Linked DNA regions of Homo sapiens: regions 2, 3, 4, 5, 6 and 7 are each linked to region 1. Evidence: promoter capture Hi-C in 16 types of primary human blood cells and fetal thymus (Javierre and others, 2016). All regions are on one chromosome and are shown on one strand. Each heading gives the region's core, a stretch centred on a gene start or on the middle of the fragment in contact. The rest is flanking DNA. Distances are from core to core; before and after follow the strand shown.

Region 1 (3,758 bases), core at 324-2,823:
AAGCTTTTCCCACAAGCACTCTTTGACCCAGCCAAATCAAAATGCTTGTCCACACACAGACCATGATCTTTTTTGAGGCATGAGATATTCTATCTGTTCATTCTGAGTGGAATATCCTTACTACTTATGAACCTAGCGAACTTTAATGAACTGTTCCCCTTCTGGACTAGGAGCTCTTAGCACAGAGTAGAGACCTGGCTTTAGTCACACAGCAATTGAATGAGTGTATGTCCAGCACCTAGCAACATATAGCCCTCAATAAAGTTAACTGAATGACTGTGTCTTTGGAAAATTATGGAAATGTAACTTACTCTTTAGAGTTGCTATCAAGCCTTTACCAAAAGTTTTCTATTAGGAGAAATAGTAAGCAAATACGTTGGCTCACTCAGTCTTTTCTTCTTTCCCTTAACTCTATACATCTTTTGACTGCCATTCTCACTCCCTTTGTGAACTGCACATTCTCACAGCACCCCTGCCCCTGGACACTTGTGGGAGAGGAATCCACAAATTCCTTTGAGGCTCCATCACCGGAACAAGTTCTCAGTAGCTGGAGAAGGCCTGGGTGGCAAACAGGAAGTTTTTGTATTCTGGCTACTTTGTGCCGTGGGGTAAAAACCGCAGAGTCCACCTGGAGACTGCAAAAAGAATGGTAGAACAAACAAAACTGTCACTATCTCCACCTAAAGCTTTTCTGGGTGGACATTCTGACTCAACATCACTCAGAACTTTTCTTTCCAGAACTGGCTCCTCATGTGCAAGACAGAAGAGTCCCGCAGAAAAGTGTCATGTTTTAGCTCTCATCGCCACCCCCCAACCCCAAACTCTTCTCCTTCACTTTTAAGAATGTTGAGCGGGACATTTTAAACACTGTTTTGGATTTTTAAGGTTTCAAATAATCCGAAGGACACTTCCCTTTGGCAGCGACAGTTGCAAGCTATGAGCCAAAAAGAAATAGAGGTTGTTCCCCTAATCTCCAAATACATTCTACCCTCTTCAATTCCCAGGACCCCAACTTGTCCCTTCCTCCAGCTTACGCGAGGGGCAAGTGGCAGCTCTTCTCCGCCTGCGTGCCTGGCCTCGTCAACAACACCCATTAGTCTCCCGTCTCCCGGGGCGGCGGGGGACTCCCAACCACGCGCCCAGGGCCCTTGCCCAGGTACTGGGGCCCCGGGAGCCACGACGGCCCCCGCGCAGGCGGATGGGATGGAACCAGCCCTGGGGACGCGGGTAGCCCAATGGGCAGCCTCGCCCCGGAGGCGGGCCCAGGCCGGAAGCCACCCCGCGGCACAGCGGCCCCGCGATACGGTGCCCGCGCCCCCGCCTTCTCTGGCACAGGCTCCGCGGCCAAGGGCGGCAGGGGCCAGCCCGCCGGGTCCCCGCCGCGCTCTTTGTCCTGGCCGCGCGCGGGCGGACGCGTGCACCCCCAGGGTGAGGGGAGGTGTGGAGAGCGCGCACGGGAGCGCGCGGGAACAGCTCGCGCCCGCCGGGCGTCGGCGGCGCGCGCCCCTCCGCCAGGCAAGCAGCGAGCACGCGCGTCGCCGCCGCGCCCGCCCCTCCCCCCCGCGCTCGCCTCGGAACTTGCTGACTGCGCGGCCGGGAGGAGCCGAGCCGGGCGGCGGCGGCGGGAGGCTACAGCGCGCGGGGGTCTCCCGCGTCCCCTCCGCCTCGCCGGGAGCTCGCGCCCTCGCCCAGCCGAGCTCCCACCCCCGCTTTTTTCCGAAGGCGCTGGGCGGCGCCACCCTCCGGCCGGAGCCCGGCACTGCACAACCCCCTCCGACTTTCAATGTTCCACACTCCCCGGCCAGAGCCTCCTCGGCTTCTTTTTTTCCCTCCCCCCCCTTCCCCCCCCCACAGCTGCCTCCATTTCCTTAAGGAAGGGTTTTTTTCTCTCTCCCTCCCCCACACCGTAGCGGCGCGCGAGCGGGCCGGGCGGGCGGCCGAGGTAAGGCGGCGGGGCCGGGGGGCCGCGTGGGGGGCGGCCGGGGCGGCGGCGGCGGTGGGGGAGGGGGCGGGGGCGGGCAGCTTTGTTCGCGCCGGGCGCCCGCGTCGCCGGTGTCCGCGAGCCGCGGCGGGGCCGGCTGGGCTGCTCGCATCACTTGGCGCCCGGCGCGGCGAGCGCTACCCGCGGCCCCCGCGCGGCCCTCCCCACAAAGGGCCGCGGAGCTGCGTGGCCGCCGCCGCCGGCCGTGGCTCGCCTCCGCGGGCGCGGAAATTTGTTGCACTTCTTGGGGCTTTGTTTATTTGTTTGTTTTTTCTCTGGGTTTCTTATTTTTTTCGTTATTTTGGACAAAATGTCGGTCCGTGATATAAAAATTGAGCGAGGAACCTTGGTGGCATTGGGAGCTTTGCAGAAGGTGCAGTTTGAATTCTGCTTTTCCCAGGGTGGCAGCTCGGTCTTGGCCGGATGAATCTTCGCTGCTGGCCGTGGAAACAGCTAGAGCAGCTCGTTAGTTGATTTTTAAATTTCCAAGTGTTGTGTTTAAAGGCTTTACGTGCACTGAGGAGGAATCGCCACCTTAAATAAGCATATGGGCGATTAACAGGGTGTGTTTTCCTCTCGGAAAGGGAATTTGGTAGCTTTGACCAATGTCAGTGTGTAAATATTTAGACGTTATTAGTGACTTTTAAACATTTTTCAGCGAGATCTGTTATTTACAGTGTGTCATATGTTATTAATGCTTGTTGCCTAAGTTCCTTGGCAAATCTGTTTCATGCCTTCTGAGAAAGTAGACAATTGATAGATTGTCCAAGAGACGGAAAAAAATGTGAGTGGGTTTTCTAACTTGAGTTCGGCAAATCCCTTAACGCTGGCGTTGTGTGACACATCACCTCCCTTGTACGTACCCCTGTTGTACGATGAAATAAGTGTGAACACTTTTGAAGCTTTTTCATTACAAGACGATTTTAGATGACTAGAAGAAAATGCTGTTGGTTTATTTCCTAGATTTAACATTTTCTCCTCCTCCTCCCCTGTTCTCTTTAAAAGTTTTCCAAGAGATAACTTCACCAAGATGTCCAGTGATAGGCAAAGGTCCGATGATGAGAGCCCCAGCACCAGCAGTGGCAGTTCAGATGCGGACCAGCGAGACCCAGCCGCTCCAGAGCCTGAAGAACAAGAGGAAAGAAAACCTTCTGCCACCCAGCAGAAGAAAAACACCAAACTCTCTAGCAAAACCACTGCTAAGTTATCCACTAGTGCTAAAAGGTAATGTGTAAAAGAAGGATCCAGCACACTTTGTCAGGTTGTCTTCCAGGTGGTTGGACGCTTTTGTTGGTTTTACCTCAATAGCAGTAGTTCAGAAATATTTACTTCATTATCAGTTTAATTGTACTTGAATGAGTTGTCATTCTTTAGGTGGTATGTAAGCAACATTACTAGAATTATACTTTTAAGCAAACTTAATTCTGTACTTCGGTAACTTCAGTTAAGAGTGTCCTTGAGTAGAGATTAGACTAACATTCTGACAGATTGTTTAAGGAGTTGGCAAGGAAAATTTGGTGAACCCAAATTAGATGGTACTTTGGGGATGTTCCTTTTATGAGTCATAATCTTCTTTAATGAAATTGACACTTCCAGAGATTAGCAGTGCCTCTCTTCATGAAACTTAATGATCAGAAATGATCATATTTGCTAGAAAATTTGCAAATTCAGGCCTTTGCTATATTTGAAAGCAGATTTAAAATTGTGCTGCAAATCTGCTTACAGTTTTACAAAACATGACTTTCAATCGTATATCACAGGTAACTTTCCTGGTTAA
Region 2 (3,758 bases), core at 711-3,210, 1.0 Mb before region 1:
GTGGACTATTCCACTGTTTCATAACTCCAACCTTTTGGTATTCCACTATCTCTAGACACAAGATGCATGGCTTAACAAGTGGCCTGATTAATAAGATGTTGCTCATATACAATCACAACCTATCTTATTAAACTAATCAAACGGCTACATCAAATACAATTATACATCCTAATTAGGAAGCCCACAATTCACGTATCTACTGAAAGCAAAGACTATGGCCTTCTCTTACAGATGTCTACTTCTCCTTGTACCCTTTACAGCCTACGAACAGACTTCAACTGTATATAAAATTATCTTAAAGGAATCTGCTTTAAATTGCATGTATTGCTGACTCTCCTGTGTGCTTTATTTAAAAGGAAGCAAGACTTGGACTGACAAAGTTTCTAGTCTTTTACAATCAGGATTGCTTTGGACTGGACTGGAGAAAGTGAATACCTTTCAGTAATGCTGCCACTACTGCCTTGTGCATGAGCAAAACGTTTACATGATAATGAAGGTCCTACTAACCACAGAAGCCATCTCCAAATTCCTTTTCAACCTAACACTTCAAATATCACTGCCAAGCGCTAAAATATGACACATAAAGAAAAACTTATTAGTTTTGAATTTAATGTCACCAAATACCCCTTTCTGGCTCTTAAATTCGGTTTTAATTTATTTCAAATCTTCATAGCTTCTTTTAGATAAATGACATTTCTTATTTTTTTTTTTTTTTTGAGGCAGAGTCTCTCTCTGTTGCCCAGGCTGGAGTGCAGTGGTGCGATCTCGGCTCACTGCAAGCTCCGCCTCCTGGGTTCATGCCATTCTTCTGCCTCAGCCTCCCGAGTAGCTGGGACTACAGGCACCCACCACCACGCCTGGCTAATTTTTGTATTTTTAGTAGAGACAGGGTTTCACTATATTGGCCAGGCTGGTCTCGAACTTTGGGAGGCCGAGGTGGGCGGATCATGACGTTTCTACTTCAAGCTAATCCTTGAAACAAATTTAGATTTAACTTAAATAAGCTTCTCAAGCACTTTTCAAATTGCTACTAAAACACTCATGAAAAGATGTGGAAATATTCCTGTCTGGCTCACCTTGCATCTGTTTTTCTTAAATTATAACTATTAATACCTTCTATCCCAATCTTTTAACTAGTTATCTGGCAACTGAATAATCATTTCAATCTGGGACCATACATTCCCTAGTTATCAACTCATCCTATTAGAGAAAAATATCTTAAAAACTTAGCTGTACTTTCCTAAATAGCTCCTCACCATCTCAATTATTCTGAAAAGGGAAGGAGGAGTGTTTTAAGTGTGATTGTTCATATATAAATTTTGTCTGTCTGCCTTAGAGTAGCAAAAATGTATAGTCTAATAGATCATGATCTGAAGAAAATGTACAAAAAGAGATAATTGCCAGCTTCAGTTTTATAGGTAAGTACAGAGGTTGGCAAACTACACCCATGAGCCAAATGCAGCTGACCACCTGCTTTTGTAAATAATGCTTTATTGGAACACAGCCATGCTTATAATTTTCTACACAATGCCTATGACTATTTTCACATTTCAAGAGCGGAGTTAAGTAGCAACAACAGAGACAAAATGACTCACAGTGTAAAATATTTACAGTGTGGGCTTTTACAGAAAAAGTTTGCTGACTCCTGGTTTACAACAGGAAAAGTCAATTTTAGAACTAAAATGTCAGTATTACTCTTTTCTACAAAAAACAGACATTATCAATAGGAATGCATCCATGAAACTATGAAAGGAACAATAGTTTGAACATACTATAAAAAGGGTAAGCAATCTTTTCCTCAAACTTTTTAATTCATTCATGCAAAAAAAAGAAAAAAGAAGTAATGTGCTAATATAAGGGCACGTAGTGTGTGGCTCTCCAATGGAGCTATAAAGTAAAGAGGTCTCTAATTTGAGGTCTCTATCACTATAGACTAACGTAAATTCTCAAGAACCAGGGTTAATTAAACCACAGTTGACTTATTTTTCAATGACAATTTCATGGCTTTGTATACTGATTGATATAAACATGCCTGTTTTTATCTGTAATCTGTTCCTGCATCATCCTGAGCTTTGCAGGGGGAATATATGCTCCACCAGTGCGAGTAAGAAGAGGATCCAGCTCATCTTTCTTTTTCTTTGTAGCAGGTTCATCCTGAGCAGAGGAACTCTGAGTTACTGATGTTTCTGGGTTTCTCCTCCCAGGAGATGGGGATTTCCGAGACCTTTTCCGATCCGTATCTCTTTCTCTTTCTCTGCGTTTTTCTCGGTCCCTGTTTCTGTAATATAAATTTTTTGAAGAGCAGAAAAGACAATATAAAACACACTCTTAGCAATTAACTGCACACAAATGAGTGAGACCATAAGTGGGTCCCACAAATTCAGACTAGGAAAAGTGGTTTAGAATGGTGACAAAGTGTTTCACAGAGAAAATTCAACAAATTAGGTCCTGAAGGCTTGACAGGATTTAGACTGGGGGCAAGTCGGCAGGAGGAAGGGGAGACGAAGGATGACATTTTGCAACTAGTAGAAGAGGGAATAATTATTGAAAGACTGAGCAGGGGTGTTAAGGTCAGAATGAGTAGGACAATCAGGAAACAAAGGATTATGTGTCATGGTTGTTGGAAAGATGAATTAGAGTTAGACTAAAATCTTAAAACATATGTAAAGACTTTAAGGTTTTTATACTGGAGGTGATGGGGAATCATTAAAAGTTTCTCAGTAGGAGAGTGGCATGAAAAGAGTGTTTTAAGAAGACAAATTAGCCTGTGGTGTATATGACAAATTGTATAAAGGAGAAGAAACCAGAGTTAATCTCCAATAGTGGTTACTTTAGTTGTAAGACTACTATAGAATATAATATTTGAAGTTGTTTCTTGATAGAACTAATATTTTCATTAGAAATCTCAGAATATTGGAAGCTTCTGCTTATTTGAGACAATGTGGGGGGAAAAACTTTTCTAGCCACAATGTCTTCCCTACTAACGTACCTGATTATCCTTTCTTAAGCTGAGGCTTTTAAAACAATCAAGGTACAGTTCTCTGAAACCATCAAGAACTAACGGGAAAGAGCGAATTCTTGCTTTTTGCTATCTTTCCCCAGAGCAAAGTTTATCCACTGAGCTGCTTTTTACATATACTGCCTTGGAAACCCAGATCATTCTGTTTGTGTTTTGGGTAACCATGAGTTATATATAATATAGTAAATAAAAGTAAATTTCATATTATCACTGCATTACCAGGAAACTGTGGTATAGATTTTAGCTAAATCTAAGGAGTATGTTTGAGATGGTCTTTTAAATATATAGTAATAAAACCTACACGGAGATTGAAAAGCAGTCATCTTCCCAGGTAGCTGTGGAGGAACAGATTTTTTTTGTTCATTTGTTTACTTTTATTTTAAGTTCAGGGGTACAAGTGCAGGTTTATTACATAGGTAAACTTGTGTCATGGGGGTTTGTTGTATAGATTATTTTACCACCCAAATATTAAACCTAGTATTCATTAGCTGTTTTTCGTGATCCTCTTCCTCCTCCCACCCTCCACTCTCCCTTCACCCTCCATAAGGCCCCAGTGTGTGTTGTTCTCCATGTGTTAATGTGTTCTCATAATTTAGCTCCCACTTATAAATGAGAACATGTGGTATTTGGTTTTCAGTTCCTGTGTTAGTTTGTTAAGGATAATGGCCTCTAGCTCCATCCATGTCCCTGCAAAGAACATAATCTCATTCTTTTTTATGGCTGCATAGTATTCCATGGT
Region 3 (3,758 bases), core at 863-3,362, 960 kb before region 1:
ACATTAAAAGTAACATCACCTAAGATATTAATATCACAGAGTGTACACCCACATAACACCCCCTAGGATATTACAAATAATATCACAGAGTGTACACACATGGTGTACACCCACTGTGACATTAGGAGTAACATTTTTCTAGGATACTACGAATAATACCACAGGGTGTACACACATGGTGTACACACACTGTGACTTTAGGAATAATATTCCCCTAGCATATTATGAATAATATCATATTAAACATTATTATTATAATTATTAATTGTTATTATTTGTATTATCCAAGGGAGATGTTACTTCTAATACCACACAGGGTACAGCCCCAGTTATATTATTCATAATATCCTACTGAGATATTACATCTAATGTCGCGGTGGGTTTACACCTTGTGATATTATTCATAATATTGTAGGGAGATGTTACTCCTAATGTCACAGTAGGTGTACACCCGGTGAAATTATTCAAAATATTCTAGGATAAGTTTACTCCTAATTCCAAGGTAGGTATTGCAAAGGACTGCACACTCCCTCACAATGTGGGGAGTAATATTGCCCTCTCCCCCCTGGATATTACAAACCATATCGTGGTCGGGGGTATACACCCTACTTCCCCATGATTTGGGGAGTAATATCACACTCCCACCCCGCCCCCCGGATATTACAAACCACTTCGCGGGGTCGGTGTATAATACCCCCCGCCGCGATGTGGGGAGTGATATCACCCTCTCTCACCCTGGATATTACGAACAACCTCGCGGGGGGTGGTGGTCCATAATATCCGGGTGGGGGGAGAGGCTGATATCACTCCCCACATCGCGAGGGAGGGGATGTACACCGCCCGCCGCCACGCGAGGTGGTTCGTAATATCCAGTGGGGGAGAGGGTGATATCACACCCACATCGCGGGGGGTGGGAGGGCATGTACACAGGATATTATGTTGGTTGAGGTTACTGACTCTGAGGCAAGGCGGCCAGAATATGTACCTTGGCTCTGCCACTTACTGCCCCGTTTGATCTTGATCAAGTTATTTAGCATTTTTTTTTTTACCTGTTTTCCTACCTTTAAAGCAGGAATAATAATATTCCCTAGATTATATGAGATAATCTGTGAAAATGTTTAGAACATGTTAGTTCAAAAATGTCTGGCTCAATAAATATGAGCATACTATTTTTAGCTGGTTGTTGCTCACTTTTCTCCACAAAAAGACTGTTTCTGACTTTTCTAGTCATCACCTATTATCATCTTGTAAACACTTCATCTGGTTGCTGTTTGCTTTCTACTTTAGTTATGCCTCAAAGATTGGCATGACTCCTAACCTTTAATTGCCTATAGCACAGCTGTAGCATTTTATAAAAACTTTACTCAAGCTTATTATGAGATGATATATGCATAGATAAGCATATATGAGACTATAATTCAAAAAAGGAAATCCTAAAACAAAGAGGCACCGTTTCTCCTAGAGTTCAATAGTCATGCCCTTCCAAAGAGGTTCCCTAGCAGCCCATCCCTGTTCTTTGTTTCACTTTGCTGCCGTGATCCAGGGTTTGCTTTATTTTCCCTCAGGAGCCGGGCCCCCACTCCAACCCCAAACCAGCCAATATCATCATAATTTCTACATAGATAACACTTGTTCATAAAGAAAACAGAACAGATTTCTTTCTCCTTGTCTCAAGCATTTCCATAGCCAGTTTCTCCTTTGCTTTGCATAACCTGAAAGCCCAGGAAATGCATTTTTACTAAAGAGCTGTCTTTCCTCAAATATAAATATCCTGCCACACGTAGAACAAGAAACACAAATTTCAATCTGATTTCACCTATACTGAACTACATCCAACAAACCCTCATTATAGTTTGTATCACAATTCCTGGATTAGTATTTCAGGGTAGAAAAAGGTGAGGAAGATAATGAATCAAATTCATATCCCAGTAACTTTTATTCTGCATTGGGTCCAAGTCTCCTTTTCTAAGGAGACAACTGAGTGTCTGATCTCTGAAGACAAGTATCAGTTACCATGTCTTTTCATAATAGCCTGTTCTCGTGAGTAAACACCTTCACTTTCTCTAACACATTGAATAAACTAGGAAAACCACTCCTTAATTCTACCAGCTCATGAGCTCTAGGTGAGTTGGAATTTATTGTTTTGCTGGAAGTAAAGCATTTCTTGAACATTTGCCTGGATTCTCAATGTATTTTGTTAGGAATGGTACTCCCATTCCAGAAAAAGGAGCATGATGCTGGGGTTACATTTGAGAGCTTCCATTCAGGATGATTGATTTGTGGTGCAGAATCAGCTGTTAGAGTCTTATAATACCAATGTAGTAAACCAAAGGCCTTCCAGCATTGCAGCAAAGGCTGTTGGTGGAATGGCACTGGGGAAGTGAAAGTGGCCCCGCAGAGATGGAATGACATTTGAACTAACCTCTTCAGTCTGATGGGATGGAATCCCTGGATCCTATCCCATCTCAGTGTAAGAGGGAAGCCGCCTCCTTTCTCCTTTGCAAAGCAAAGGAGAAACTGTGTATGGAAATGCTTGAGACAAGGAGAAAGAAATCTGTTCTGTTTTCTTTATGAACGAGTGTTATCTCTGTAGAAATTATGATAATATTGGCTGGTTTGGGTTTGGGGTGGGGGCCTGGCCCCTGAGGGAAAATAAAGCAAGCCCTGGATCATGGCAGCAAAGTGAAAGAACAGGGATGGCCTGCTAGGGAACCTCTTTGGAAGGGCATGACTACTGAACTCTAGGAGTTCTATAACTTTTGTTCTGAGCAAGCAGCATTTGAGCCTGTGGAATCCAGGCATTCTAGAAAAAGATGAGAAGAATAGTATCACTGAAGAGTAAGGAAATTACAGGAAGAAGCTTCTGAAGCTGAGTAAAAAGAACAGTTTTTACAGATTAACATTGTCAAATTTAACAAATAAAAGTATAGGACACTCACATTTTAATTTGGGGTAAACGACAAAAATGTTTAGTATGTCTCACACAATATTTGGAACAACTTTATACTAAAAAAATTTGTCTGAAATCCCAATTTAACTGGGCATTCTGTATTTAATTTGGCAATCCTACTACAATGAAAACCTGGAAATCTACCCCAAAACTAGATTTACTCATAATAATTTAAGGGTTCTTAGAGAGGATGCCTTCCATGCAGCTAGAAGCTGAAGGATATGAGGGAACAATTACATCAATTTCAATACCTCAGTCCTTGTTTGCCTACAGTATGGGGATGGTGAGATTGAAGAAGCGGACAGTTGGAGTATAGTACGTCTGTATGCAAATGATGAAAGAGGGAGAGTGTGGAAAGACAGATTTTACACTTTTTTAAGTGATTAAGGTTGCAATGACCAGATTTCTATAATTACTGTATTCTTCCTGCCCTCCGACAACCACGTTTGATCTGTGTGACACAGTGGTTGGGACTATAGTTTGAGACAGAGGTAGGCACTAGTCCCAAGCTGATACAACTACATTCTTCTGTTAACTTGGAATTGGGCAGAAAAGAAGACTAGATAGACTTGGAGGAACATGCAAACTTGGGGACAGTGAGATAGTCATTCTCTACAGGTTATATAGACAATATAAAAAGCCAATCTCTAGAGGAAGCAGAATAAAATAGACATGCAAAAAGGAATAAAGACAAAATATTACATGCTGCCAGGGGGGATGTGGGAACCAGAGACAGTCAGATAAAGGTTTAGTTCTTTATGATTTTCTAGATTTAATTTTATATGTCCTTCCATGTTTCCTTATAATA
Region 4 (3,758 bases), core at 364-2,863, 950 kb after region 1:
GAGATTCTGGTTTTTAAAATATTTGTATCCAACACATACTTGTTTGAAAAGTAAATCTGAAGTGCTGTGTGCTTCAGAATCTTCTGATGTTGTTTAAAGTTTAGAAATATTGATAAAAGGTAAAGTGAAAAGCTTATAGTATTTAAATATATTCCAGTACAGATGGTTGGTAGCTAAGGAGTGTTTTGTTTCTTTAAATAACTATGTATAAATCTATGTATTGTGTACCAATTTTGCATGATAGACTAATACAGGACCATTTTTGGAAAGATTATAGTTAAGATGTGTTTGAGATGTACTTAGGAACATTGTAGGAAATAAATCAATTTGGCTGACAGGAAACTGGAAATGTAGAATTTTTAAAAGCTTGTTGAGAGTATCTTGAGTGCTTATTTGGGAACACATTATCACTTTATTTCAGGAAATACACATTTATAGCTTTCACAAAGGGCTATTTAAAAGTGATGCTGTATCATTAGAGAGAAAAGGTGGAGATAGGCATATGTAAGTGTTTGGACACCTGTAGAAGAAAATCCTGATGGAATTGTCATTTCCTCAGGTCTGTTTGCCTTTTCCAACAATAAAATGAGATGTATATCCTCATATCCTATATGCATATTGGAAACAAAAGCTTAGATGGCTGGCAGTGATACCATGCAACTAAAGAAAAAGTTATTTCTTTAGAGTTTATGGTTGTTTTGAGGATGTTTTTTATATTATAAAATAAATTGTACTAAATGATAATTTCTTCTTCCCATTTTAAATGTGTTAGGTTGAACAATATGTCTTTAGATACCTTGCTGTCAGTTGGCATAAACAGGCAGTATACCTGTATACTATTTTGCCTCTAAAAGATTTTCTCAGCAATGAGAGCACTTGTGTCTCTGCTGATTACCTTACAAAGTTAGACAATACTAAAAACATTTAAGAAGTCCTTCCAGATTATTTTTTTGACATGAGGTAAAGTATTTACTAGAAGTTTTTTAACTTATGAAATAACATTTTCTAATGTCCTCACCTTATGAATTGTGATATTTGTAATCTAGTTAGCTGAACAATTCTAGACCAGTCCTTGGGAGTCTGATCTGGGTTGGATGATAGATGGACTCGATTCCCCACTCCCTCTCTGTATTGCAGGGAGATTCACATGAAGGTGAAATTAAGAAATTGAATGCTATTTGTATTTTTTCCAAAAACAGGAAAAAATGAATTCCATTCATATTGGTAAATTTTTGTTTTATTGTTTTTCCAATCTAGATTAAAGAGTCTATTGTTGGGGAAATCAGACGGGAAATTGTAAGTGGACTTTTGGCAGCAGTATCTTCAAGTAAAGCGTCTAATTCTAAGCAAGATTATCATTAAACAGAAATTATAGGTAAATTTTTCTGAGTTTCTTTGTTGAGCTAAATGTAAATAGTAACTGGCATTTTATTCTTTGTTTTGTTAGTATACAGGTTTGGTTCTCTAGTTAAATTTTGAGTTTTAGAATGTATGTAATATGTTATTTTACAATGTGAAAATTTCACACAAGCCTATTTGAAGTGTAAGTCAAATCCCATAATACAAATCTCCAAGGAATTACTTATATTGGGTCATTCTACTGAAATTTCATTATAGTAATAAATCCTGGAATTGGACCTTCAAACCTGAATCTTATTTTGATTATAATGGTATTTCAGATGTATAGTTTTAAAGAACAAGATTTTGTGAATTAATCACAACTTCCTTTTTTTTTTTTTTGAGACAGAGTCTCGCTCTGTCGCCCAGGCTGGAGTGCAGTGGCGGGATCTCGGCTCACTGCAAGCTCCGCCTCCCGGGTTCACGCCATTCTCCTGCCTCAGCCTCCCAAGTAGCTGGGACTACAGGCGCCAGCCACTACGCCCGGCTAATTTTTTGTATTTTTTAGTAGAGACGGGGTTTCACCGTTTTAGCCGGGATGGTCTCGATCTCCTGACCTCGTGATCCGCCCGCCTCGGCCTCCCAAAGTGCTGGGATTACAGGCGTGAGCCACCGCGCCCGGCCGAATTAATCACAACTTCTAAGTATCTTTCCTAATTATTTTTATCTTTTAAAGAAACATATCCCATAGATTCATTTCTAATAATAATTTATTTCAAAAAACTCTTTTATATGTCTGTCTTAGTAAAACGAATTACTTTCATTTTATCTCGTAGCTCTAATTACATTAAAAAATTTTTTTGTAGAGATGGGGTCTTGCTATGTTGCCCACGCTAGTCTTAAACTCCTAGCCTCAAGCGATCCTCCTGCTTTAGCTCTAACTTCATTTTATATAATATATATTAATAATAATTCTTGGTGAATGCAAAAAGAAAGAATAAGTTGAGTAGAATAGAACTAAAAATATTCATTGAATAAGACATGAGAAACAAATGTAATTTGAAAAGTATAATATACAATTTCAGATATAGGAAATTGGAAAGTATTTTAATAAATTATGTCACAAAGCAATTAATAGGAATTATTTTTTTTAAAGCCAGGGATATAAGAATTAACTCTCAGGAAGATGTATAGAGATTACAGGATAATCATGTTTCTGTGTATATATATTTGCATAAAATTCTCATCTTCCTTTAAAGAAGCTTTTAATAACAGTATTTGAAAGAGGTTTAAAACTGACTTCTCTTTTCTTTTTTAAGGTTGGCATGGATCCTATTAGCTGTGTAATACTGGAATTATCAATGATATGCACTGGTGGAGGTGTTATTTGTGCTTTAGAAGATACTTGCTGTTGAGCTGGGCTACTGTATACAGTGTACAATGTGTATTTCTTCAACCATATATTTTAAAAAGACGTACATAGAAACTTAGGCACTTTGCTATTTCTTTTCTAAACTATCAAAAACTCTAGCAGTTTGAAAAGCCTAATATTTATTTGTATGTCAGTATTTTTCATTTGATTCCCTATTAGAATTAATTTTAAAACTTGAAGACTTCCAGACTTATCCAACTTATAAATAACATATTTCTTCAGACTAACATCTTAAAACACTGACCTCTATGAGGTATTTACTGTGCAATAACTGATTCATTTTTTTCAGAGCTTGAAGCATCCAATGATTTTTCCCTCCACTGCTGTTAATTAATGTCACTTCCAAGAAGAAAAACTGTTCTGTTGTAAAAAATATAATTGCTCTTAATTCTTGGGGAGGTTACTAATAGCAGTAGGATAGAATTTTATGAGGTTACCTACAACTACTTAATGTACTTACACTGTAAGCCTTGTTGCTTTACCCAAGACAAATGTAATTTTATCATTGCTTATGTAGTATTTTTCTTTTGGAAATGTGCCTTATGTTAAACACTATGTACTTTTACTTTTTGCATTGTCCAGACTTCTTTATTAGATGGAGATGTTTCTTTTTCTGTCTTCTAGACTAAATAGAGTATCATCCAAATAATGGGGCCTATGACTTGAATGAATAGAAATGAATAAGCTGGTGTTTGTTTTTTCAAAATGGAAGTAATTTAGATTTGTTCTCCTCATACATAAAATGATTTTAGTTCAGTTTTAACCAGTGAAAACTTTGTTTTTATGAAAAAAAAGGAAAATGGTTTCCCATTTGGTTTTATATGTGTTAAATAAATGTGTAAAGTAACCACCAAATGTTATTAGAATTTTTCTTCTAGCATTTATAATTTTTTCAACTCCTATTGTGTTTCTTTGTGTGTGATATTTTAATCAAAAGTGGTTGAGTTGTTAACAGTGTTCTTTGAAAGAATCTCTAAAAGGCTTATAA
Region 5 (3,758 bases), core at 770-3,269, 930 kb after region 1:
TTAGCTGTTAAGTTTTAGGATTTTTCTATGTTTATTGGTCTGAGTTAAAATAATCCCACATCAGTCAGATATTTGACAGATAATTAAGTTGTTCCTTTGGCCTTTTAAATGTAACTGTGTATGTTTTGAAGATAAGCCTGCCCTGGAATATGAACTCTAACATATGACATGCACAGATATCTGCTACTCTAAAGCCCAATTAACCACTGTTTTGTTATTTGATATTTACCTAAAAGACCTTAGTCAATTTTTATTGAAAATTTACCTGACAGTAAAAATAAATGATATTTTTGTGTGTATGTGTAAAACTCGATAGTATTTGTTTAAGATAAACATTTGCAAGTAATTTATAGAATCATAAACTAGTACGGAAAGAGATACTTTATTCATTTTCTAGTTTCTTCCCTTTACAAATGAGGAAGCATCCCCTCCCTCATTTGATATTGTTTTATAGCAGTGGTTCTTCACCATCTTTCTGAGGGCTATAATATTCCTTTTGATATCAGTGCTTCACAGGGGGAAGGAGCACAGCGGGTGTCAGTGGAGGATGGCAGAGGAGGATCTCCTGTTGTACATTCTTACTACTTTACTGTTTGAAAGTACTTTGACTTACAGTTACATTTGATCACCCCAAGGACCTATGAGGTAGAAATTTTAATTTTAATTTTGCTGTTAATTTTAATTTTGAGGCTGAGCATGGTGATTCACACCTGTAATCCCAGCACTGTGTGGAGGCTGAGGCAGGAGGATCACTTGAGCCCAGAAGTTAGAGACCAGCCTGGACAACATAGCATGACTTGTCTCTACAAATAGTTTTAAAATTAGCCGTGCATGGTGGTGCATGTCTGTAGTCCCACTTCTCCAAAGGCTGAGGTGGGAGAATCACTTGAGCCCAGGCAGTTGAGGCTGCAGTGAGCCATGATTCCACCACTGCACTCCAGCCTGGGCAACAGAACGAGACCTTGTTTCAAAAAAATGAAATAAAAAAAAAAAATACGGATATTTATCGCAGATAATTGTCAGAGGCCGTTAGCCAGTAAGTGGCATGAATAAGACTTGAATTCACGTTACTTGTGACTATACTATACAACTTGGTGAAGGTCAGATATGTTGGTATGGTCAGGCATTGTACAAGAACTAATCATCTGATGCACAGCACCATGCTACTACTTTGGAAAAAGAATGATTTCCTCTGACATTTTTTTGAGCTGTCATTAAAAATTAGACAGAATTGTAATTTCTAAAGCTCTAGTTTTGATTTTCTTTGAAAACCATTTTGATATACAATGTTTATTCAATGATGACAGCTATACAGTCTCTTTTTAAACTTTAGAGGAAGGGTTATTTGAGTTAGAACATCCATGTATTGCTGTCCTGTGCAATACAATACAGTAGTATTGTGCCTAGAAGATCCCTCTTAGTCAAGGTAAACATGACAGCTGTTAAGAAACCAAAGTGGTTCACTGAAACAAAAAGTACATTTTTTAAACAAGAGAAAGAAACCAAAGTGAGTGCCTGTCATTTTAGCAGAACATTGATTTAGAAAGATACAGTCATTGTTTCATGAAAACTTTTTTAAATGAAGTAACCCAAATGTGTGGGTTATTCTAAAGCTGTTTTTCATCTTTGAATCCCAAAACATTGAGACCATGCAATTTTATCACTTTGGTTTAGTGGTTTTTTTTTTTTTTTATATTATGAAACAGTTTTGTTATGAAAAGTTTCAAACTTACTTGAAGATTAGAGAAAATAATATCATGAACACCCATTACTCATCATTCTAATTCAGTTTTATTTGGCTATTCTTGTTAATTATGAAAGGCTGCTTATAGCAAATGACCAGAATTCTACGGAGCATTTGAAACCACTGAATAGGGAAAATCTTGTCACATAAATCTAAATTCTGTGTTCTATATTTGCTTCATAATTCTCTGTGGTGTACCCCATCTCAAATTTGACTGCCGCCTTTTGCACAATTGTGACCAATAATAAAATAAGAAATTCACCCATTATCACTAGCATGTATGTTTCTCTCTTCAGCAAGTGGGTACTCTGATTTTGCTGAGTAAACAAGAAGAATCCCAACTTTAGTTTTATTAGTAAAATGTGACTGTCTCAGCTTTTTGAAGTGCTCCTTTCTTGCACTTAATTATGGAGTTTGTAGTAAAAGGAGAGAGTAGATTTGTTTTTGCCATTGAGTAGCATCTTGAAGAATAGAATGCTGATGATATGTGTTTATTAAAGTCATGTTATTTTGTGATTAATTTCATAAGTCTAAGGAAATAGAATATGTGATAATTCTGTGTTTAAAGGTGAGCAGCCGGGTGCGGCGGCTCACACCTTTAATCCCAGCACTTGGAAGGCTGTGGCAGGTGGATCGCTTGAGCCCAGGAGTTTGAGACCCCAGCCTGGGCAACATGGTGAAACCCCATCTCTACCAAAAATACAAAAATTACCCAGTCTCATAACCCAGTCTCAAAATAAATAAATAGATTAAATTTAAAAAAAACATGACAGTGAGAGATTTGGTATATTAATGCTGTGCCTGAGCCAGTATTCCTAGAACATAAATGCAGAGGCATTGGAATTCTGCTATAATTTTTTGATCTGGTTGATATTTACTTTACAGAAAGATACTTGAAGTAGACCGAGCCTGAATAGAAGCTAATAATAGACATTTTATTGAATATAAAAAGAAAACGCACATTGTTCCCTTGCATACAAGACAATGGTTTTCCTGTTGAACATGTATCTGCTGCTTTGAAGAATTATTCTAATTTTAACAAGATAACAAAGAATAGTAGAATCTATTTTTATATATCTGATCTACAGGTGATGGTTTTGCATGAGTAGTGTGCTTTCAGTTTTCAAAAGATTCATAAACTTCGGTTCCTGGAGCTATGTAGAGCAAAGAAATCACAAATTAGAGCAAATTTTAAATTGGGTAATACTATCTTTAACCTTTGGGCTTTTAAAAATGTTGGTTATTTCACTCTTATTCCTTTGGAATATTTCTTATTCTTGAATAGCTTCATAACTAAAAACTACCAGAGTTTTCCCTAAAATGTGTTAACTATTAGCGCTTTGATTTTTTTTTTCAAGGTTGAAAACCCATATGTTCAGCTAGGTACCACACTTTACTAGGATGTTCTTTATGATTTAAGAACCAATCATTACAGAGTAAAGTGACAGAAATTACCGTGCATCTTGCCCATTCCCTATGTATTTAATGTTGACATAGAGTTAATTATGTTAGAATAGACAGAGTGTTTGTGGGGTGGAGGTGGTGATTTAGGAATCTGAAAATTTCTAAATTATGTACTTGTGCAGATAGAAAAATAAACACAAAAAGACAACTAAGTTTGATATGTTCTTTGAACAGTGTTTTCAGGGAAGATTTATGGTTAATATCTTTCATTATTTTAGTTCTGTAATGAAACCTGCTTTTCCACATACAGCTCCCAAGTTATGTCTTGAAAGAATTTCAGGACAAAGCAGTCTTAAACCTGAGCAATTTTTGATACCTGAAAGTTTGGGGGAGTTTAGAAATTCTGCAGTGGTAGCACTGTGTTCTATTTTCAAAGATGCGAGACTTATAATTACCTCAACTGTGTGTTGGTCATAATGTGCTGTAGTGAGTGTATTAGTGTTTCTCCTGGGATTTACCCTACTTTGAAGTTTAACGTATAGAGAACTTTTCCTTATGGATCTGTTTTTCATATAATAGCAACATTTTTTTTGAATGAAGCAGTTATTAA
Region 6 (3,758 bases), core at 633-3,132, 910 kb after region 1:
TGTAAGGGGTGCAAGAATACTGAAGAATGTTCTATCATCTCTCACAATTTACAATCTGGCTAGTAAGCCAAACATACCTTCCAGGGCCAGTCATATTATTTACTCTACAATCCAGTCCCCAAATAAATGACATAGACATGCTGTTGTATATCAGATCCCTGTGGGAGGGGTGTGATCAGGAGTGGTGGAATGGTGGAGTCAAAAAGTTCTGGCTTAGCTAGATTTTGAAAGTCATGAAGGTAGTGGACAGAAAGAACAGGAATGAATTAATTAGCAAAGACAGAGTAGGCAACAGCACTTAGATATGATAGAATTGAAGCTGGGAGCAGCAGAGGAACAGGGTGGATACGTAAGAACCCTGGATAAAACTTTGAAGGCAGCATATTTTGTGGCACTTGACCAGCCCTTTCAATGCTTCTTCTTAGGTACCTTCTTTATTCATTCTCTTTTTCATCTTCCACACAGGCAGCGAGACTCTGACCTATTTTGGAGAGCCATTAAACTGTTAGCTGCATCCTACTACAGGACCCTTGAAGGCTGAGAAAGTCTTATAGGTTCAAAGAAAAGATTTTCTAGTAGTGAAATTTCAAGCCATAGAGATATTAATATCACTGTTCTAACTCCCCTGACATTTGGCAGTACATAGATGAGACTCAGGAGAATATTATGATGGTTCTGGAAAGCTAGTCTGGATTTTGGATTTGATCTTGGGGATATTAGTAAACCATTAGAAGATGTCTTGGAATTGTAAATCTAGAGCAATGCGCTAGAAAGGAGATAGGAAAGAATGAAGGCAGGAAAATCAGTGTGCTATTTTAGTAGTCTATGACTTATGTGTAAATGCCTGGACAAAAACTAGGCACTATTTCATCTCCAGAGCATTCTTCATTCCAAATTCTCCAAAAGTTATGGTTTCCTGTAGCTATCAATGACAATGCACTTAATTACCTTGTAATTCGAATGCTTCCATTAGGAATTTTACTATGCTCTGGATTTTAATTTCAAATGAAAAATAATTCCTTCCTTAAAATATTTTGTCTACGCAAAATATTCTTTTCAATCACGTTAAGATTTTAAAAAGTGTTCTAACTTGTTCTTCAGAGCATAGCCAAGTACAATAAAATATTGGAAGCCTTACTTATATGTATAGTTCAGATGTAACATTTAGGGGAACAATGCTGCTTGATAGGTCTGTCACATTGTGTCTGGTTTTGGATAGAATTTGAGTATTTTTGCTAATGAGAATTTAAACATAACAAAACGGAATGCCAAAGCTGGCTTTAAAAAGTTTTGAACCCTGACATCATTTGTTTCTTGTATCATGCTGTCTCACCAAAATCCAAGCAACTATCTCCACATTGTCCCAATTGTTTCCTCTATTCTCCCTCACCAAAGTCCAACTTCAATGTGAAATTTCCAGATTAAATATCCTTTCACAATTCATTTTCATTCATAACATAAACACGATAAATAACTTTAAGTATGAAAGTAGCACTCCAGGAAGCTTAGTCTTTTGCAGTTTTTACATTTTGGCAACACCAATCAAGCACCTCTTTCCGTCCTTACCCCAATTCCTTGGACACTAAAGAGTCTATATTCAGGCGACTCTTTCAAGTGTATGTTTCAGGGTGCCCAAGCAGACACTTGTTTTCTCGCGGGGGATGTTTTGTGAGACTTGGCCTCCCCACTTACGTTCTATTTTTAGGTGAGGGAGGAGGAGGAGGAGAGGAGGAAAGATTATTAACAAACTAATCTTGCCCATTCCGCGGGCAGTAGTCGGGGGCTGGCCTGCTCCGCGTCGCGCCGGGCGCGCCCCGCCCTACCGCGCCCCGCGCGGCCCCGGCCGGAAGGGGGCGTGGGCCGCCGCCGAGGGAAGGCGCGCAGACGCGCAGCGGCCGGCCTGCTCCGGGCGCGTCAGGCAGGGGGTGGGGAGCAGGGGCCGGGCGGGCGCTCGGCTCCCAGCCGCGCTCCCTCGGGCCACTAGCGCTCCCGCGCGCGCCCGGCCGCCTTCATGTGAAGCGCCGGCCCTCCGCCCCTTCCCTCCCCTTCCTTCCCTCCCTCCCTCCCTGTCCCCTCCTCCTCCTCCTCCTCCTCCGGCGCCCGCTTCAGCTCCCCGGGGCCCCCTGCCCGGCCGGGCGCTGACAGCAAGGGCGGGGGTCCCTGCCGCCGCCTTGTCTCGCGCAGGGTCCGGCTGGGGTAGCGGAGCCCCCAGTGCGGCCATGGACCGGCCCCTGTCGTCGTCGGCGGAGGCGGAGGAGGAACTGGAGTGGCAAGTGGCGAGTCGCAGGAGGAAGGCCTGGGCCAAGTGCCGCAGCTCCTGGCAAGCGTCGGAGACGGAGGATCTGTCCACAGAAGCGACGACGCAGGACGAGGAGGAGGACGAGGAGGAGGACCTCCCCGGCGCGCAGCTGCCGGCAGCGGGGGGAAGAGGTCGGTGCTCCCGGCCGGGCTCCGGGGGGAGGCTGGTGGGCTGGGGAGAGTCTCGTGCGCCCTGGGCGCCTGCCACGAGTTCTGGGAGAGCCTCGGGCACGGTAGGCCGAGGGGAGAGGGGACACTTCCGACCTTCAAACGCGCGCGCTGAACGAGGCGCCCCCAGCGTCAACACAGACAACTGGGTGCCATCCGATTTCCCTGCCAAGGGACACTGAGACGTGTCGCTTAGGCTGCATTTGCCGTGGTAGATTTTCCTACTTGGGAGGGTCCAGGGTGACTCCGCCGTCGTAGTGCTCCTGGGTGGTAACGTGCTGTCCCCTCTCTCTACCCCCAGGAAACGTGCCCAACGAGAAGATCGCGATATGGCTCAAGGACTGCCGGTGAGTGCTCCCTGGTCCGCCCGCGTCCCGGGGGAGATCCGTGCGGACGGGACGCCGGAGCAGAGCCACTCGGGCCGCGTCCCTGTGGGTCCCGCGACCGTTGTAAGCTACAAACCGGAAAGTGAGCCGGCGGATAGCTTCCTCCTCTAAGCGATTAGAAATGGAAGTGCTGTGACCGCTGATTATTTGGTGACCGTGTTGACTTTACAGTTAGGACTTGAGCTACTCACGCATCGTGTTAGCATCAGAGATCAGAAATCCAGAACAGATAATCATGCCATATTTGTTCTGTTTTTATTTGAAAGAATTCTCACATCTCGAACAGGATATTTTGTTTTGCTTTAGTTTTGGCATCTGTACAACTGGCACGGAATCATTTTCCTTTCAAATGTGTTTTAGACGAGTTTAATTTACCTAACTACACTAAATGGGCTTTAATTTTGTTTCTGTTTGGGGAGCTATTAAAACTAGCTAACTTTGTACTTATAGTTTACTTCTTGAACATGGAATTGTCAGATGGCACTGGAATTCTCAGGGAATAGAACTTTTAAAAGCATTCAGACTGCATAAATCTGTTTAATTACATGCTTTGGCAACTGGTACAAAAATGTTTGATAAAATACAGAGGAGATGAATCATGTTGCACGTAAATCTGACTACAGCAAAATGTACTTGTTTCTTATTCCACTTTGCTAGTTGTAAAATCAGGAATGTAGCCTTTAAACTTTTGTTGGTGTTTGCTTTCGAGCATATTTTTGCTTTCTCAATTTAGATTTTCTTAATATTTTGTTCAAATATTAGAGTTAGGGTAGTTTGTTTTGTTTTGTTGTGGAAAGTGATTCATATGCCAGTTTGCCTCCTCTAAAGACAGACAAGATATTGGCTACCATGATATTAATGCCTTGTTTTGATGAATCGACTGGAACCTTATTGAACACTCTTTAT
Region 7 (3,758 bases), core at 872-3,371, 890 kb after region 1:
TATAAGACTACGACTATAAGGCCAAGAAGTCTACTAAGTCTATAATGCCTACAAATTTGCTACCTGGGCCAGGCGCGATGGCTCACGCCTGTAATACTAGCACTTTGGGAGGCTGAGTTGGGCAGATCACGAGGTCAGGAGATTGAGACCATCCTGGCTAACACGGTGAAACCTGTCTCTAATAAAAATAAAAAATAAAAAATTAGCCGGGCATGATGGCGGGTGCCTGTAGTCCCAGCTACTCAGGAGGCTGAGGCAGGAGAATGGCATGAACCCAGGAGGCGGAGCTTGCAGTGAGCTGAGATCCCGCCACTGCACTCCAGCCTGGGTGACAGAGCAAGATTCCTTCTCAAAAATAAAAAAAAAAAGTTGCTACCTGACCTCTTATGAAAAAAAATTTCTGACCCTGACCCTGTTATACATAAGTTTTTTCTTAAGAATTGTATTTTAAGACACCAATTTAAAATTATTTTTCTCACTTTATGATGTCAAAATTTATGTGCCACGTTATATGTACATTTTCTGTGAGAAATCTGCATACTGCAAGAGATGAAATAGAATTTCATAGCATTTAATGTTGATATTTTACAATAAAGGCATATCAGAAAATGCATGTGAACAAAATAATTAGAAGAATTTTGGTTTGTTGATAACAATATAACTAGCATGAAGTATTCCAAAAAAGTCTCATTTTAAACTTAAACTAATACTATTCTAATTTAGTATGGCTTGCAATTCTATTCATATTGATACTTTAGGTTAGCTTGCACTAAGCTTGTTCTTCATAGAAACAATTACCAAACAGTTCCTGTAGCCTTAGAATATGCAGTAAGGCTAATTTAACCTTACTTTTGGGCATCTTTTTCATTTCAGGAGGTTTTAAACTTGAACGCAAACGTCTGGCTCTTTCTTTAGAAACATCATCTTCAGAGTAGATGTGCTACACTTCTATGATATATAAAATTGTACCAAGGATAATAAATTCTCACCAGTTGAACATAAAATGAACTAAATCTATATTTTCTAGTAGGGGCACATAATAATTTCAAATGACAAGGTTTGCCTCTTGCCTTTCTCCCCTTAAAATACTTAACTTTGGAGAAATTGGAAAAAACAGACTTTTCTTTATTATTACTAGAAATTTGAGGAAAATTTGATTTGGAGCATAAAAGAAAGAACTGAGATAGATAAATGGTACACGAATGTAAAGTTAGATTTTCAAAAAATGAAACTGCAACATTTTAACCACCAGGATGCTTTTCTTTTGGTTTTTATTTTGATGTATTTGAGTTATTTAAAAATACTGGGTTCTTTTCCTTAAAGCCACAAAGTCAACATCTTTCTAAAAAGGAATACACAACCAATTTTCAACTTTCCTTTCATGGCCTTTCTATTCTTGTGGGCCTTATCAACAGCAATTATATTCAAGTGTTTATGGGTGGCATCTATTCCAGAAACTTGTATGTGTAGTATCTTCTGAGCATCATCTTTAATTTACTCATGTTTTTCTTATAACTTTCAGATTAATTAAGCCAAACAAAATATTGATGAGCTACTAAATCCAAGGCACTGATACAGTTTGAGAGAAAATCTTATTTGACATTCTCCATTATTTGATGCTTAGCTACTCTTCTCTCAAGGAATGGTCAATTGAGACAGAGTTGAATGGAGCCAAAATAAAAACATTACATCCTATTTGTCCTAGCTGCACTCCCACTTATGCCTCAATGGATTCAGTAGCTTTATAGCTATATTCCTCTAAGAATAAACATACTTTCATAATATACAGAAAAGCCCAATAGCTCCCTTTCTTTCTTATCTAACTTCTTTACCGTTCCCCTCGCCTTCAGACTTTCCCTAATCAAAATCATACTTCCCGTCAAATCTTTTTTTTTTTTATTATAGTGCTTTTAAAGATGGTTGATGTATGTATGGGAGGAGGGAGAGTAAATGTGACCAGGAATTCCTCATTGCTTTTCCAGGCAAAAAAGTTCCCCTTTGATTCACCTCAGATCTCAAATGGTTTTTCACATTCAAAAACGTGATTTTAAAGCAATGCCTATATCTCTAAGATGATAATTGGCTTATACTGCAGTTCCTTATTATGGTCCTAATTAGTGTGCAAGTTTCTGGGTATCAAATCTTAGTACTCAATTCCTATTAAGTTAGGTAAATCATCTTGTACGAAAGGTAACACAACACTTTAATGAATGGGAAAAATTTACATGGACTGAATATTTTAAAGTATTATTTTTAATTGACACAAAATTGTACATATTTATGGGCTAAGTGTGATATTTCAATACGTGTGTACAATGTGTAATGATCAAATAAGAGTCATTAGCATATTCGTTATTTCAAACATGAATCATTTCTTTGAGTTGAAAACATTCAAAAAAGAACGAAATTCTGAATATTCTCAATTTAAGCATATTTAAATTATTTATATAAGTTTTCAATAATAAGTGCACTGTGTTAAATGTCACTAAATTTTGTAAGTTATATGTACAATTTATTTCTAAAGTTTAATTCATTAGAAATGACTTTAACAATAAATATTTATAAAATTATATATATGCATACACACATATATACAAATACACACATGTAGATGACTTGGCTTTTCTATTGAGATTTTCACATTATAAGTCTATTTTGTAAACTGGAATATTTTGGTAAAAAAACTAGCAGCAGTATCAACAGTTGTTGTGATCAAGCCGAATATGGCACTTTTTTATTGATAGCTGAGTCAAGTTGATCTGATGAGAAAACCAGGCATTCTAAAAAATTTATAGATGTTGGCAGTCACATTAAAGTATGCTGCAGTTAAAAGTAGCAACAGTTTATTTAACAGGTTGCCTGAATCAAGTGGAACTTACTGTTTTTTGCCTGCCTTTTTTTTTCCATTTACAAATGAACCGGTGCAACATAGAAATAGTTTTTAAATATAGCCAAACTGAAATGTCCCAATTTCACCAATATATTTTATTAACTGGAGTGGTAGTACTTTTTAGTGGTATTTGCCTGACACTGGGTTTGTGTATTTCTTCACACATTCTGTTAAGTGAACACATGCCAAAGCAAATATCTGAATGATATTTATACCAGATTGTTTCTATGTAGGAAAACTATGTTACACTGCTTGCATCCTTGAAGTTATACAGAAGTTTAGAAGTCAAGAATATTGAATACTAACTTTGGTTACTTAAAAAATGCTACCTCAAAGTAGAACTTTCAAAACTGAAATTTACTGATAAAAGGTAATCCACAAACCAGAATACAAATGAAACACAATTTTTCAAATTGTTAATCAATCCTAGATTCTTATTTTTATCAAACATTATAAAACATTTTTTTCTAAGGAAACATAAGAAAAAATATTGACCTAATACAACTACAGAACATTGAAATAGCATAGGCATGAATCTTTTTTTCCTTTTCATTTGTCTGGACTGATGCTTGCATTATGAAGCTTCTCAGCCTCTATGTATGACCTCTGACAGCCAAGTTCATTGTTTTTAAGGTTGAGGAAAGAGATTTGGTCAAGCCCGCACAATGGAATTCACGGATTTGAACAATGAATAAACAAACTTTGGTAGAGAAATTTCTAGTATGTTTCAGAATGCAAGGGCAGATGGAGACTATAGGAGAGCGTTAAGAATAAACCAGTTAGTTAGTAGTCAGAACAACAGAATGCTAAACTCATACTGAGAGTAGAACACCACATGGACTGGAAAACTCAGAAAGAGCTTTCTGGA

What was found. The method cuts DNA at HindIII sites, captures the fragments that hold promoters and counts their contacts. A CHiCAGO score of 5 or more calls a contact.
Region 2: a contact is called between a fragment that was not itself captured here and the fragment with the promoter of UBE2E3 in region 1, in 1 of 17 cell types (monocytes). The highest score is 5.1, in monocytes.
Region 3: a contact is called between a fragment that was not itself captured here and the fragment with the promoter of UBE2E3 in region 1, in 1 of 17 cell types (total B cells). The highest score is 6.4, in total B cells.
Region 4: a contact is called between a fragment that was not itself captured here and the fragment with the promoter of UBE2E3 in region 1, in 5 of 17 cell types (monocytes, fetal thymus, total CD4 T cells and 2 more). The highest score is 8.5, in monocytes.
Region 5: a fragment that was not itself captured here is called in contact with the fragment with the promoter of UBE2E3 in region 1 in 2 of 17 cell types (fetal thymus and monocytes); the score reaches 6.8 in fetal thymus.
Region 6: the fragment with the promoter of ITPRID2 here is called in contact with the fragment with the promoter of UBE2E3 in region 1 in 12 of 17 cell types (fetal thymus, non-activated CD4 T cells, activated CD4 T cells and 9 more); the score reaches 19.6 in fetal thymus.
Region 7: a fragment that was not itself captured here is called in contact with the fragment with the promoter of UBE2E3 in region 1 in 1 of 17 cell types (total B cells); the score reaches 6.5 in total B cells.

The regions. Positions count from the first base shown.
Region 1 is chr2:180,979,032-180,982,789 of GRCh38, forward strand. UBE2E3 (ubiquitin conjugating enzyme E2 E3) reads left to right here and starts at 1,574. Exons shown (of 6, transcript NM_006357.4): 1 at 1,574-1,942; 2 at 2,987-3,205. The coding sequence starts at 3,012. UBE2E3-DT (UBE2E3 divergent transcript) reads right to left here and starts at 1,981. Exons shown (of 2, transcript NR_187176.1): 1 at 1,035-1,981; 2 at 1-635. RefSeq lists a silencer at 992-1,851. The HindIII fragment of the contact is 2,197 bases long and covers 685-2,881 here.
Region 2 is chr2:179,979,720-179,983,477 of GRCh38, forward strand. It overlaps CWC22 (CWC22 spliceosome associated protein), which reads right to left. Exons shown (of 20, transcript NM_020943.3): 5 at 2,033-2,278. Among named protein-coding and RNA genes, the nearest start is that of CWC22, 26 kb to the right of the region's middle. The HindIII fragment of the contact is 1,916 bases long and covers 1,003-2,918 here.
Region 3 is chr2:180,021,200-180,024,957 of GRCh38, forward strand. No RefSeq gene overlaps it. Among named protein-coding and RNA genes, the nearest start is that of CWC22, 16 kb to the left of the region's middle. The HindIII fragment of the contact is 1,491 bases long and covers 1,368-2,858 here.
Region 4 is chr2:181,926,904-181,930,661 of GRCh38, forward strand. It overlaps ITPRID2 (ITPR interacting domain containing 2), which reads left to right. Exons shown (of 18, transcript NM_001130445.3): 17 at 1,258-1,375; 18 at 2,658-3,758. The coding sequence ends at 1,362. Among named protein-coding and RNA genes, the nearest start is that of ITPRID2, 37 kb to the left of the region's middle. The HindIII fragment of the contact is 1,969 bases long and covers 630-2,598 here.
Region 5 is chr2:181,905,770-181,909,527 of GRCh38, forward strand. All of the region lies in intron 8 of ITPRID2 (ITPR interacting domain containing 2), which reads left to right. Among named protein-coding and RNA genes, the nearest start is that of ITPRID2, 16 kb to the left of the region's middle. The HindIII fragment of the contact is 9,837 bases long and covers 1-3,758 here.
Region 6 is chr2:181,889,848-181,893,605 of GRCh38, forward strand. ITPRID2 (ITPR interacting domain containing 2) reads left to right here and starts at 1,883. Exons shown (of 18, transcript NM_001130445.3): 1 at 1,883-2,430; 2 at 2,768-2,813. The coding sequence starts at 2,220. RefSeq lists silencers at 1,760-2,089, 2,380-2,519. The HindIII fragment of the contact is 2,528 bases long and covers 1,503-3,758 here.
Region 7 is chr2:181,869,296-181,873,053 of GRCh38, forward strand. No RefSeq gene overlaps it. Among named protein-coding and RNA genes, the nearest start is that of ITPRID2, 21 kb to the right of the region's middle. The HindIII fragment of the contact is 2,698 bases long and covers 773-3,470 here.